Regions from separate parts of the Homo sapiens genome. Here all the other regions are linked to region 1. Evidence: promoter capture Hi-C in 16 types of primary human blood cells and fetal thymus (Javierre and others, 2016). All regions are on one chromosome and are shown on one strand. The core of a region is centred on a gene start or on the middle of the fragment in contact, and the rest is flanking DNA. Distances in the headings are between cores, read along the strand shown. Region 1 holds the start of IFT57 (intraflagellar transport 57). Region 2 overlaps CD96 (CD96 molecule). Region 3 has its middle 5.2 kb from the start of PLCXD2.

Region 1 (4,299 bases), core at 808-3,307:
TTCTAAAACTTTTTATTGGGGAAACATGCAGTATTGAACAGTTAGCTTTTTTGTTCTCTTTGTGCCACAATTACTGGAAATACTTTATATTTTTGGGTTTTTTTCTTCTTCACAATTAAGGGGGGAAATTATTCTGTATACTGCTTTCAGGCCAGGCTGTGTCAGTATTTTACCTGGGAAGGAAATGGCTAAGACCCTGGGAGTCGTTTTGTTTCCCCCAAGTTAAAATACATACGTTGCTGGAGGATTTATCAGCTAAAAAGCAACGTTTGACTATTTCATACTGTGTTACGTAACTTCCTGAAAATGTCAGAACATCTTAAGTAGGCAGCATGCCTGGCAGGAACATCTCCCTCCCTGAGTGTAATAAATTTACTTCCAAAGTCTGAGAGCTTTTTCAGAGTCATGTAAAAAGCCCCAGTTTGCTTGTTAGTTAACTTAGGACCCCAAAACATATCTAAGCTTTCATTTTTCAGTCTTATAAAGCCATACATCTATCTTACACTACTGTGACTGTTATACATACATATAACACCCCCAAGCTGCACATGTGGTGGTGGTTGGGGTATGGACTTATCGGGGAGAATCACTGTTTCAAAAAGGCAAAGACCAGGAAAGATCAATTTGGTAGTGGGGTAACATCAAATCCAATTTTCTCACTCAACTTTATTAAAAGCAGCTGGCTCATGACTTGTGGTAGGCAAGCAATGTTATTTATTTAAAAAGCAATTCTCAGTGGGCTGCCCTTCAGGTTATTCTCTACATAAGTCTGTAATTTTATGTACTTCCTTTCTTTAATGAAAAAATGGTATTTGCCCTTCTGACTTTTCACTTTGATAACCTTATTAGTATCAGAAACAAGTTAGCTGTAGACGGATTACAATGAAAAGTGTTCTCATTTTTTCTAATAAAAACAGGATATTGTAGATACATTTCAAATTTCAGTTGTCCAAAAATGTAGCCCTTCTATATTTTGTAGTGGCAGATACAAGAGATCAGAGAGCCCTTAAAAGTCACGTTATAAACATGAACATATGTTCAATCTCTTGTACTAAGTTTTCTTCCCAAAAACTGCCAGGCATCCACCACTTACCTCATTTTTTGCAACTGTTAAGAAAATTGCCTAATACAGAAGCCTTTTGAAAACTGTAAAGCTGGGCCATTTCTGTGGTCAGTTATGTACCTTTTCTTAAATTTTCTAGGTCAATAACTGCAGAATACAGTAGTAACACCCTATCTTTAGCCACCCTTAGAGCTTTAGGGCAGGGAAATTCCTTTTAAGACCATCTCTATTCTGTTGGATTTAACGAAGTACCCAAACACTTTATACTACATGTAATGGGTTTGAAACAGATTAAGCAGCAGGATGGAAGCTTAGTATTCTTGTTTTTGAAGTAAAACAAATCCTTCCAAATGCCTCCTTTTGTTCATTGTCTTCCTCATCCTTCCAACCACTTTCCTAGCACTGGAGTAACAGCCAGGCAACGTAATACAGTACTTCAAGCTTTACAATATACTGTTAAGTGCAGCATTGCCTAGTGAGAGAAAGATAAAATTAAAGAAAGAACGAGAGAAACCTCTCGTTGGAAAGTTCCTGCAGTAAAAGTGAAACCTATGGTATTGACTATCTTTACAACTATGAAAAACTTTTCAATTCTGAGAAAATAAAGGTATCAGTGAGCCAGTGCAGCCTTCAGTGCTACACGTCTTCACCTCCCTTTAATCTTTTTAACAGCTACTAGCTGACCCAGATGCCCGCTTAATTGCTTTTAGCAACCACCAGGTCCAACACACCTCAAGCCAGCTCAAGACTCACTAGGCAAGCGGAGCAGAAACGTAAGCCGGCTCCCTTCAGACTTTCAGCGAGGGAGAAGACGCAGCCGGCAGTGGGGCGCGAACGCCACGCCTCCATGAGGGGCGGGGCTGCTTCCCGACCACCATTTCCACAGAGGCAGGGCAAGAAGAGGGCCACAGGTGACGTCATTCAGGAAAGCCGCCCTGATTGGAGGGAAGGAGGCGGAGTCTAGTTTCCCTGGTGACGGATTGTCCGGTGGTCGCCTGGTAACCGGTCGTGGCTGTACTGGCGGCGGCAGGGCTGGCGGCTTAGGCCGCAGAGGTCTGTGGGCCTGAGCCCACGCTGGACTCTGTCCGTTCTGCGATGACTGCTGCTCTGGCCGTCGTCACGACGTCGGGTTTGGAAGATGGGGTGCCTAGGTCCCGTGGCGAAGGGACCGGGGAAGTGGTCTTGGAGCGGGGGCCCGGCGCGGCCTACCACATGTTCGTGGTGATGGAGGACTTGGTGGAGAAGCTGAAGCTGCTCCGCTACGAGGAGGAGTTCCTCCGGAAGAGCAACCTGAAGGCCCCGTCCAGGTGGGTGCCGGCGTCCCCGAGCGCCCGGGTGCCTGCTAGCCCCCAGGGAGATGCCCTCCTTGGTCCTGCTGGGAACCAGTTTCGTGAGAGCGGGTTAGCAATTCCTTGCCTCCGTCTTCCTAGCCAGGGAAGGGCACTTCACCCCAAACTCCCGGGAGGTCCGTGGAGCTCACGCAGCCCTGACTTGGTATTTTTGTAGAGAGAATAAATAAGTTTTGGAACGGCAGAAAGGATCGGAAGACAGCTTGCCTGTTTTTTTCCAACACACACGCATTACCAGAAAACACAAACTATATTTTCTGATTGTAAAGATGAAACAAATACTCATTGAAGAAAACTCAGAAAAACACAAGTAAATGTCTAGAAAAATTATAAGACCGTCCAAAATTCGCCTCCAGAGAGGAATGCCATTATCACTTAAGGCTTTTTTTCTAGTTTGGGGTTTTTTGTTGTTGTTTAAGACCCTGTTCATACAACTGGGGACCGTGGGTACTTAGGATCCTGTTAAGGAGCACTTTAAATGCGGTTAGTAAACTTGTTAACTACTTGCTATGGTTTAAAAGACTTCTGCCTTTGTAATAACCATACTCTCAGAAACTGAAAAGTGGAAAAGACGAATGACAACTATTGAATTGTCCCCCTATCATAGAACCTAAAGTTTTACCCTTGTTCCGGTGGGGGAAAAGTCCAACATATCCTGAAAGCAATGCCATTACTTGCTGAGGGTAGTGGTCAGCTAGGACCTTCTCCTCAAATCACTGTAGCTTAGCAGTAGCCAGATAAATCAGTTTTATAGCTTTTCTTTCACTTTAATACTTACATTTGTATATTTTATTCCATAAAAGGCAATCAGTATTAAGAATCTATAGTACTTAATGTCTACAGCCAGGCTCAAATAATTTCCCTTGATAGTTTTAATCTCATTCCACTGCTGTCTTCCAATAACTTGAATTGAAAGATATGTAGGCTTGATATAAACTGTTCATATTAAATTAGTCCATGGTCGGAGAAAAGATAAAGGAAAAAGTAGTGTTGCTTGATCCATGTTAGAAAAGGTAGTCCTGGGATTATTACTTAAAGTGAATTGATCAGGATAATATAGACAACCAACATTTCCTATGTTAATAAAAATGCATTTTTTTCCAAGTATATTTTTAAAATGAAAACAAAATGTCCTTAAGGTTCTGTTGATGTCATCTCTTGCACTGTGTCCTCAGGGGTTCAGCAGGATACTTTGAATCATGGATTTGTGTGGGGATATCCTAGTCCAATGGTTCTCAAAATGTGATCACCAGACCAACAGCATCAGCATCACCTGGGAACTTACTAGAAATGAAATTCCTCAGGCCCTTTCCCAGGTCTACCTTTTCAGTAATTATAGGGATGGGGCCTAGCATCTGTTTCAGTAAGCCTTCCAGATGATTCTGATGGACACTAATGTTTGGGAACCACTGTCCTAGGTTTACAGTATCTATTGGTGTTCATTCCTCTGCCCTAGAAGAGTTATCTGCCGATAAGGAAAAGATGACTTTTTGGTGGGTGGGTGCTTTGAAAGGATAGTGAGCATATACCTGGAAGGACTTCATGGCCTTTTTTCTTCCCAGCTTTCTGTTATCTTCCAGAACATTTACATTTATCCTGCAGGAAAAAGTTTGGGAAACATGAAGGAGTACACGACAGATTTTTATGACAATGGTTATAATAGTTGTAAATACATTGTAAACATAATAATGATAGCTACACATGAACAAGACAAATAAGATCTTTGATTAAACTGACTTGAATGTTGTTGCTAGTGAGTTTTATTCCTATAATGTTTAGGTATAAATCATACTGATCCTCGTAGAACTGTGTTTAGTAGACTAGGGGATTAAGCAAGAGCCCACAGATGTTTGACTGGTGATGTGACATTCACAGGTTCTTAATCCT
Region 2 (4,661 bases), core at 1,426-3,925, 3.3 Mb before region 1:
CAGAGACAAAATATTGTGAAAAGAGAACAGAATCCTTTCACAGCTAGGCCCTTGGGGAACATGGGAACAGGATTTAGACACACACTGTGTTGTGAGCAGACAAGAGAGAATGACTCAAACAGCAACAGAAAAGAAACAGGAAGAGATGATCAACTCAAACACTTCAAGTCCCTCAGCATTTTCAAATTAGGTTCTTATGCACCACTTCAATTTGCATTTGTTTATGTACTATATAAGTGTTTGCACTTCAGGTGTGTTTTGCTTACCCAACTAGCTTGTAAACTTAAAGATTGCACAGGGGCATAAGAAGAAAACTGTACAAGTGAGAGGAGAAGAAGCAAGAGAAGATCAAAACAGTAAAGGGTAGAAAGAAAATATGCTATTGGTTGTGAACTTGACAGAGCTCTCAGATGGCAACTGCCTCCCTTTAGTCAGCTGCCTACTCTGTAGCTCCGTACCAGGCTTACATTTGTGGTCACTCTGTGGTGAAGGATGTTTCCCCCTTCTGTTTTGCTCTTTTCTATTTTACTCCCTTTGTACCCAAAATCACAATACCAGAACCATTTCTCTAACACTGAGGCCATTGCTTTTCATCTGATCCAGATGACAGCAGCAAAGTTACATTCAGAAGACCGGAAATTTTCCAACCGCAAAAAGTATAGATACGGTTTCTGCCTCTCCAGTGACCTGCAGTTTTTAGTAGCTACAAGCTTAACTCCCTTGGTTCTCTTTATTTTAAGAAATACATTTCTTTAAAGGCAACATCATCCTCCTTTCTGGATAATATACTATCTGTTCTCCATTGCTGTCTTCATTTTGTGGCATCACTTATTCTATTTCCTATAAGGTACATCAGTCCATGTTGCCAAGTCTCAATGAAGGAAACACTGAGTCCTCCGTGAGGCAATAGTATTGTTTACTGGTTCAGGCAGAATGTACAAAAAAAACTATGTATGAAACCAAGGTCAATGTGTACTTGTACTAACATTACATGGCAAATGTCTTACTGGGTTCCAAATGAGGTCAATATATAAAAAGAAGGAGCAGGGCTCATATTTAATTGGAACTGAGAAATAGAATTTGCTCAATATAATTATTACTATTCTTAATTGAAAACTACCATTTACCAAACTCTTATCCTTTAGCAGGAACTATATGTTTAAGTGCATTACACAGATTATCTCATTTAATCACCAAGCTAGTGATACCTGTAAAGAAAGCACTATAATTATCCATATTTGTTATGTAAGAAACTTGAAACAACTTGGGAATGATGAAACGTATGGTAAATGATAGAGCCAATATCCAAATACAGGCTACCTGAATCAAACTATGTATAGCTAAACAGTTTTCTATATAGGTCTTCCATTTCTCTTTACTTCAATCCCACTCCACTCCATCCTTAATTGAACTGAAGTGTGTGTGTGTGTGTGTGTGTGTGTGTATGTGTCTGTGTGTGTGTGTGTGTGGTGTGTTTTCCTCCTGGAAAACAGCAAGGGAATTGGGCATTATAAGATAGTAGTTGATGGGACCTTGGCCTATAGGTGGACTGTTCCAACAGCATATTTTTAAAGCAAGTAAGTTATAAGACATGGAGAGGAGGCTATAAATCCATACCTGTTGCTTGTTCTGGACAGCTCTATGCCCCCTTTAATATGACCTTCACGAGTTATTTTTTTTTCTTATATTACCAGGCCACTTTGCCCTGAGTTAGAACCAGTCCACTGCCAGTGCATTTTGCATCTGTTGGCTTTCACTTTCATTGTTTTCCATTAGCAGAAATGAAAATCATTTACTTTAGGACCAGGTAATTTAGGGCAGGCATTATTATAATCATTTTCCAAATGGGCTCAGAGAATTTACACCACAGGCCCCAAGTCAAATTTTATTTCTATTCAGAAAGGAGCTAGAACTTAAATCTAGGATTCCCACTTCTAAATGCAGGCCTCCAAAGTATGTTTGGTGTGAATGCTTCATAGTTAGCAGCTTCCTTTGTCCCTTTACCTGCCCTAGACTAAATATTGTATACCCAGAATCACTTTCATAAATTCACCCACAAACCTTCCTTTACCTTCCATCACAGTGAATAGCACCACCATTCAGGTGTGCATGCCAGACACCCAGATGTCACCTTTAACTTCTTTCTCTCCTTCCTTCATACTGCCCTTGTCTTATATTCTCTCTATGATCATATCTGTTTTATGCCCAATGAACAAAATTTGCCATTTTCCTTCTATATCTACCTGAACTACCACTCTCTCTTTTCTGGGCTACTGAGGTGGTCTCCTGAGTTGTCTCTACCTTCTCCTTCTTGTCCATCTTCACCTCATTTTCACATGAAAGTCAGTATGACTTTTTTTTTTTAAACAACACAAATACAGTCAGCCTATAAATGTCATGCCATCCTTTTGTTGGAAATACTTCCATGTCTTCTTATGGTTCTGAGATCAAAATAGAAACCTTTTAAAAGGGAAGCTGACCAGGTCCAACATGATCTGGTCCTTACCTGCCTTATCCTTTAATTGCTGTATTGCTGTCCCACTGGCATTTTCCCATTTCTTCAAACACTCCAAAGAGCTTCATGCAAGCTCTTTTCTCTCTCTGGGATTACTCACAATCCCACTCTGCCTCAGCCCCACCTCCTAAATTGTGGTAGTGTCTACTCATTCTTTAGACTTAAGCTATGGTGTTAATTTCTAAAGGACAATTTCAATGGCCTCTGTGATGTGCTCCTTCACAAGACTGTTACAGTATTTATTATCGACACTTATCACTGTTGCAAGTTTACATTTATTTACTTAAATGCTGTGGTCACTTCCTGTCTCTCTTATCAGACAGTAGCTCTTTCTGCTCAACCTTTGTATGCTGAGCACCAAGCCTAACCTTGCTTTTCTTAAAATGTACATTTGTTGAATGAGAGAGAGCTGAATGAAAGCACATCCCTCTACCAGTTATGCTTACCGTGTGTCTGAATGAGAAGGTTGTAGATTTTAGTCTGAATGCCCTCTGGATACAGAACAAGCATACACTCGTACCTTCCACTGACTGAACAAGACATATTCCTTAAGTGCAGAGTCCATTTTGACCCATTCTCAGGAGTTTCTGTGAAAGTCACAAGTGACTCACAGGGTCTCCCATAGGCACAGTAGAAGCCGTATTGGGGATGATAGACAGCAATCAGGTCTATCTTATTGGTGACCTTGGACCATTGCATCTGCACGAAGAAGCCTACTGTCTGTGTTTGGCAGGTCAGGTTGACATCAGAGCCAAGTGTAGCATAAACATTTTCTTCTGTGTTGACTGTTTTTTCCCAAACTCCTGAAAAGAAAGAACATGAGCCATGAGTTTAAATAATTCACATAGAATGACGCTTAATTAAAAACCCTAGTCACTTCAGTAAGGTGAGGGGAGCAACTGAGGAAATTTCTCCCTGGCTGCTTTAGGAATAGAGTAGAGCTTGTGTCTCACTCAGATAGAGATGCATGAGACAATATAAATGAGGAGGCATTTACGTAGAGAAGCTAGAGGTAATTACTGACTTCTAAATATTTATCTATGTGTTGGTCTGACCAAAATATAATTGAAGGTTTCAGACTACCTGTGAATAAAATTAAGCCTATTTGAAAATTGAAGCACACCAGCAAACTTAGTATGACGATTCTTCTTACGTTTAATATAATTGGCTTTTTGGGTTATAAAACGACAGCTGAATATAATACACACGTGATGCTTTCTGAAACTGCAAAAATAAATGATATGTGTATAGCAATTTCTTTGAAAAATACATGTTTACAAGGGCCTTTCATATCTTATCTTGTTTAATCCCCCTCACACGCCATAGGTGATGTTGTTAACCCCTTTTTATGAGGAAGAAACTGGGCCACAGAGAGATGAAACAGTATGCTCAAAGTCACACCTCCAGGCCTGGCGCAGTGGCTCACGCCTGTAATCCCAGCACTTTGGGAGGCTGAGGTGGGCAGATCATGAGGTCAAGAGAACCAGACCATCCTGGCCAACACGGCAAAACCCCGTCTCTACTAAAAATACAAAAATTAGCTGGGCGTGGTGGTGCACGCCTGTAGTCCCAGCTACTTGGGAGGCTGAAGCAGGAGAATCGCTTGAACCTGGGAGGCGGAGATTACAGTGAGCCGAAATCATGCCACTGCACTCCAGCCTGGCAACAGAGTGAGACTCCATCTCAAAAAAACGAAAAACGAAACAAAACAAAAAAAGTCACACCTCCAGTAAAAGAATGAATTCAGTTGCCCAGAGTCTGTGGTCTTTCTATAACCCTCATAAGTATAACAGTAAAACTCCAGCCAAGGAAGACAAAGAGACCTTTAGAGACCAAAGAGAACTTTATTTAATTCAGGCATCCAGGCCCACAGCAGACTCATGCCCAAAATGGCTGCTGACTCTGACAAAGAAAGCAGGCTTGCTTATATGTCGTTTGAGGTGGGAAAACAAGGCAGGATACAGGTTTCAGGCAAAGACAGTAAATTATTTAACCCGTGACAATTCTGAGAAAACTTACAATTTAGTTATCTTAACCAGTCAATCTTGAAGCTAGACAGAGATGGGGTAAGGTAAAACAGGAGTTACAGAAATATGTGGGGGTCTGGGGGCAGGCAAGAAGCTTGGAAGGTTGAGATAAGCTCACA
Region 3 (4,659 bases), core at 1,809-4,308, 3.4 Mb before region 1:
AGGAGTGGAAGAAAAGTGAAATGATCCTTAGATAATATATAATCCAGTAGAAAAGAGAGTCAAATATGTGAATTACAAATTGTAATATCAGGGAGAATGAAGGGATAACAGAGACACACAAATGGAGGATAATAAAGTGGTATATATTTTGATGGAGGAAGAGCCAAGGGATGCACTGTTAGAGGATGTGGTATTCAAACCAGGTCTTGAATTCTGAGAAAAGTTTTGCTCATGGAAAATGGGTAGAGGGTTTTGGCATGGGAGAGGCATATGTAGCTGGGAAAACAGAGGCAAAGCTATGACAATGAATGATAGATGTGAGAAACAGAAAATATACTAGAGTGACATATGAGAGAAGTGGGAAATATTGTTCATTTACTCTCATTTAATCTTCACATGAGCCCAATGAATTAGATACTATTACTGTTCCCATTTTACGAAGGATACTGAGGCTTAGTGGCTACATAACGCTGTCCAAGATCTCATAGCTAGTGAGTTGCATAGCTGGGACTCCAGGTCTCTTGATCATTGTGTCAAGGGCTTCCCGTTACATGTTACCTGTTATTGTAAACCTGGTAAAGGCTGTTTATGACCAAAGCATATTAAAGAGTTGCACTTTTTTTTTCTATTGACAAAAATGGCCATTGCAGGTTGAGAAAGGGAGTAAAATGATTCACATTGTACTTTAGGAAGGTAACTATGGCAGAATGGAGAATGCTTGGGGGAAATAAAGAGTCTTTCAGATAAATCACTGAAACCAATTATCTAAGCAATGAAAAGTGAGAAAAAATGCAAAGACCTGGCACATAGAGACTAAACGCATGGCTTTTCTGAACTCTGATGCTTGGCTCCCCAACCCTACTTCTCACCCCAAGGACCTGTAATTCTAAGGCCTGAGTGGGTAGCTTCCCTATCTCTTAAATTATTTTTTATTACTTGAACACCTCATCAAACTGTTCATCCATTTTTATTGAATACAACCAATCTCATTTATGTAAATACATATGCAAATCTGTTTTCTGGAAATTTTTTCTCCATTACACTCTTATTTCCCCAACCATTCCCCATTCTGCCATAATTATCTTCCAAAATACAATGTGAATAATTTTGCTTCCCTTCTTAAAAACCTGCAATGGCCTCTCTTGTCAACATAAAAAATTTTCCAAGCTTTTAAATATGCTTTGTTCATAAACAGCCTTTACCAGGGTTACAATTATAATAGGTGACATGTAATGGTAAAGACCCTGCTGGATTCCTGAAGAGCTGACTATAACCTTAGCCCTCTATTTGGAGACTCCCTTATTGTTTGAAATGTCTGTACTTTACAAGTGGTTTGTTTTGTTTGGATTCACGTGATAAATGAGTAGTGAGGATCCCAGATAAAGCACCAAAACAGCTTGCCATTCAGACATGTGTAGTTGGCAGGATAAGCCGGCCTGATTTTACTTGATTAAAGGCACCCAAAAAGCCTTGGAGGAAGCATATTGATTTAATGATATTGGGACCAGGGCTGTCCCTGGTCCCCAGAGCTAAGCCCCAGGACTGTCTTACTTCCCAGGCTGTGTACGAGATGGGGAAGGAACAGATCCCAAGCAGAATCAGAACACAGACATGTATTTGGTCGAGGGATATTGCCTAGAGGAGAGTGAGGTTATATGATGCTTTGAGTTCCACAGTGATGCGTCACACACAATTTTTTTTTCTGGCTGGGGAGTGGGGTGGGTGGAAAAGGAATAAGGGACTGAAATGAGGAGCCAAGTAAACGAAAGATGGGATGGAGTAGAAGCTGCTTTGCTTTATGGCCTCGTACCAGTAGAGTTTATTCCTAGTCTTTCCCAAGCTTCTTCACCCAGCTCAAGCCAAAAGACTGTATGATAAAGATCAGAGGAGAATGAGGAGATGCAACCAACATAGGTGGTGCTGGGACGTGACGACAGCAGCAGCAATTACCTCCAGGAAGAGTGACATCATTGCAGCAACTGGGGATCTTCAGGAGCCTCCAAGGAAATGGAGACACTGAGGCACACACTTGTGGACACATGATACAACTTACACATTCCTGACATCAGAAGACAGAGGATTGGGATCCACTTATTTTGTTGATTGGGGTAGAGCCGGAGACTATTGTTTTGTCATTTTTACTGTGACCATTCCCGGATTATACCCAGGTGGTGTGTCCTTGAGAAACTGGGTAGAAGAGAAGCAGAAGCTTAAGCAGGAAGTAGCGTTGTCTATATTACCTCATGCCCACTTGGTATTTATGGCCCACAACTGGGATTCTGTAATGAGACAAGAGTGAACGGCAGCAATGGCTGGCCATAAGATTGTTTCTCCCAGATTTGAAAGCTCGGTGTTCAGGAAGACCCTAAGAGCCTCTGTGCCTTTTAAGTTTATTGGACATTAAGTTTTTCTGGTATGCTTTCAGAAAATTTATTTTAACAGTAGTCGTTACTATAATACTTTTGAGAGGGCTACTAACAAGTGATGATTGTAAAATTCATTTTAATATCCATTCATTTCCGTCTACCACACCACATTCCAGCATCCTCTTCCATTTCTCCTTCCCACGCCACCTCCAATCCCTGAAAAGGAAATTGAGAGGAAATAAAGGCCTCAGAGCCTTTATTTTCTAGCTAGTTAGCTAGTTAGCTGCAAAGTCCCTGATTTAAGATGTTATAGAGCCACCTACTGGTATTCAAGGCTCACTTCAGGCACGTATAATATGTTCTGTCAGTGTCAATTATTCCTAAAAATGCCTGTAGATCACCAGCAACAGGAACAACTAGGAGTTTATGCAATATACAGATTTCTGGATCAAATGCCAACCCTCCTGCATCAGATCCTCTGGGATGGCATCTTTTCCTCCTGTCTTTAAAATGTTCTCCTCAGGGGATTTTTATGTCTCAAATGTTTGAGATGAAGGCTTTGAAATGTCAACAAATTTCTCTTTTTTAAAAAAGTTAAAATAGGTAGAATGGCAGAGTAAACAATTCTTATCCATGCTGCATATAACTTTATGCAATTAGGAAGACTATTTTGGCAGAGATAGTTGATCTCAACTAGCAGGAAAATCAATTGATCTGCCACCCTTACCTTTTTTTTCTCCAGGCTACCACCCCACCCCAAGGTTCCTAGAATTATGAGAATTATGTCTATTATTAGGAGACATTGTTGTATTAATGTGTATATTAGTAATCACTTGAGCTTCAGTCACAACAGAATGACCTCTGTGCATTTGTTATCATTTAACCAATCTAATCTTGGGAATGCATTCTTTTAACAACATGACTCTGCAATTTGGTGTGCCACTATCAATTGGAAATAGCATGATGCCACCTCATCCATGGAGTAAAAATTAGTAATATTATCATTACCTAATACTATCATTCTCTTCCAACTTTTTAAATATTAAAATTACAAGTTTGTACAAACAACCTTAACCAACAAAAATATTTTTTAATAAAGTAAATAAATTTCAATGTAAATAAAAGTAATGAATTTTTAGTGTGTCAACAACTCTCTCTGATCAACTCTCTCTGAATGTTAGGTTGTAGTCAAAAGCCCTTACAAATGCTTCTTGGCCTTTTGATGATTTTGTTTCAAAGGATTCTGATTTGCTTAAGTGTCTGTAGTTAACTCCCCAACTCAGCCACGTGTTCGGCTCTGCCCTTCCTAAACTGCAGAAACTGGTCATGGAGGAAGTTGTAGTTTATCTTAGCAACATCTGCACCCACAGCTTCCTCTTCCTTTGAGTAGCAGAAGTAAAAGAGAAAGTAAAATTTATGCCACACATCTTTCTGTTTCAGCCAAGTATAAAGGAGAATATTCTAGAAGTCAGAGTTAAGCAATATAATGAAGTAGAGGAGGAAGTGAGTTCCTATAACTGGAAGCATCCAAGCCAAGCTTGGCACCAATAAGACAGTAACATGATAGAATTGAAGCACCTGATGCTTGATTGAACTACATGAACTTCACGGTCTTTCCAACCGTACTCTGTTTTTTTCCCTCTGCCTGCTGTAGATACCTTTTGTCTTTGCACAGTTAAGCCTTTCTTTCCTTTTTATTGCCTTTCCTCACTCAAATCTTTGACTTCATTTGCTGTAGTCAGGACTAACAGAACTTCTATATAAATATGGACCTAATATTCTAAAATCATGCGGCTACCAGCAAAAGCTTGAGATTGTGTTTTGGGGAGTACCTTTATACTGGTAACACGTTCTAGCCTCTGGGGACACCTCAACATTTTCTCTACCCTCTCCCCGCATTCAGCACCCAGGATGAGATGCGCTTAGCTCAGGCAGTCAGGCTCAGAAAACACATAATGAAGCTCTCAGAGTGGGAAGTATGAATGACCTGGATGGAAGTCACCTTTAGTGCCTCCATCACCTCCACAGTGGTAGGATTGATGTGTGTGCGGCCCGAGGGCAAAGCTTCTCAACTCTTGCGCCAGATGTGCCCTAATCATGGAGCTGAGTAAATGCACACTCCCCAGAGCCCTGTATGGCAGGCATGACAAGCACTGATCCTGGCATTTCTTTCAAGCTGCATAGTTTGTTTTTGTAAATTCATTCACATTTTGTTACACACACACACACACACACACACATGCACACACACACACAAAATTGATGTTCTGGATGTGCTATGTTTGCCCTGTGG

What was found. Contacts are between HindIII fragments. The CHiCAGO score rates a contact against its expected background, and 5 or more counts as called.
Region 2: a fragment that was not itself captured here is called in contact with the fragment with the promoter of IFT57 in region 1 in 1 of 17 cell types (fetal thymus); the score reaches 5.0 in fetal thymus.
Region 3: a fragment that was not itself captured here is called in contact with the fragment with the promoter of IFT57 in region 1 in 1 of 17 cell types (fetal thymus); the score reaches 6.1 in fetal thymus.

What each region holds. Positions count from the first base shown.
Region 1 is chr3:108,220,182-108,224,480 of GRCh38, reverse strand. IFT57 (intraflagellar transport 57) reads left to right here and starts at 2,057. Exons shown (of 11, transcript NM_018010.4): 1 at 2,057-2,370. The coding sequence starts at 2,159. It overlaps LOC124909405 (a long non-coding RNA gene), which reads right to left and starts at 1,876. Exons shown (of 2, transcript XR_007095999.1): 1 at 1,795-1,876; 2 at 1-1,535. RefSeq lists a silencer at 1,850-2,143 and an enhancer at 2,079-2,338. The HindIII fragment of the contact is 9,168 bases long and covers 1,507-4,299 here.
Region 2 is chr3:111,543,703-111,548,363 of GRCh38, reverse strand. CD96 (CD96 molecule) reads right to left here. Exons shown (of 14, transcript NM_005816.5): 2 at 2,962-3,318. Among named protein-coding and RNA genes, the nearest start is that of CD96, 3.8 kb to the right of the region's middle. The HindIII fragment of the contact is 3,926 bases long and covers 713-4,638 here.
Region 3 is chr3:111,667,135-111,671,793 of GRCh38, reverse strand. No RefSeq gene overlaps it. Among named protein-coding and RNA genes, the nearest start is that of PLCXD2, 5.2 kb to the left of the region's middle. RefSeq lists an enhancer at 3,810-3,859. The HindIII fragment of the contact is 1,694 bases long and covers 2,212-3,905 here.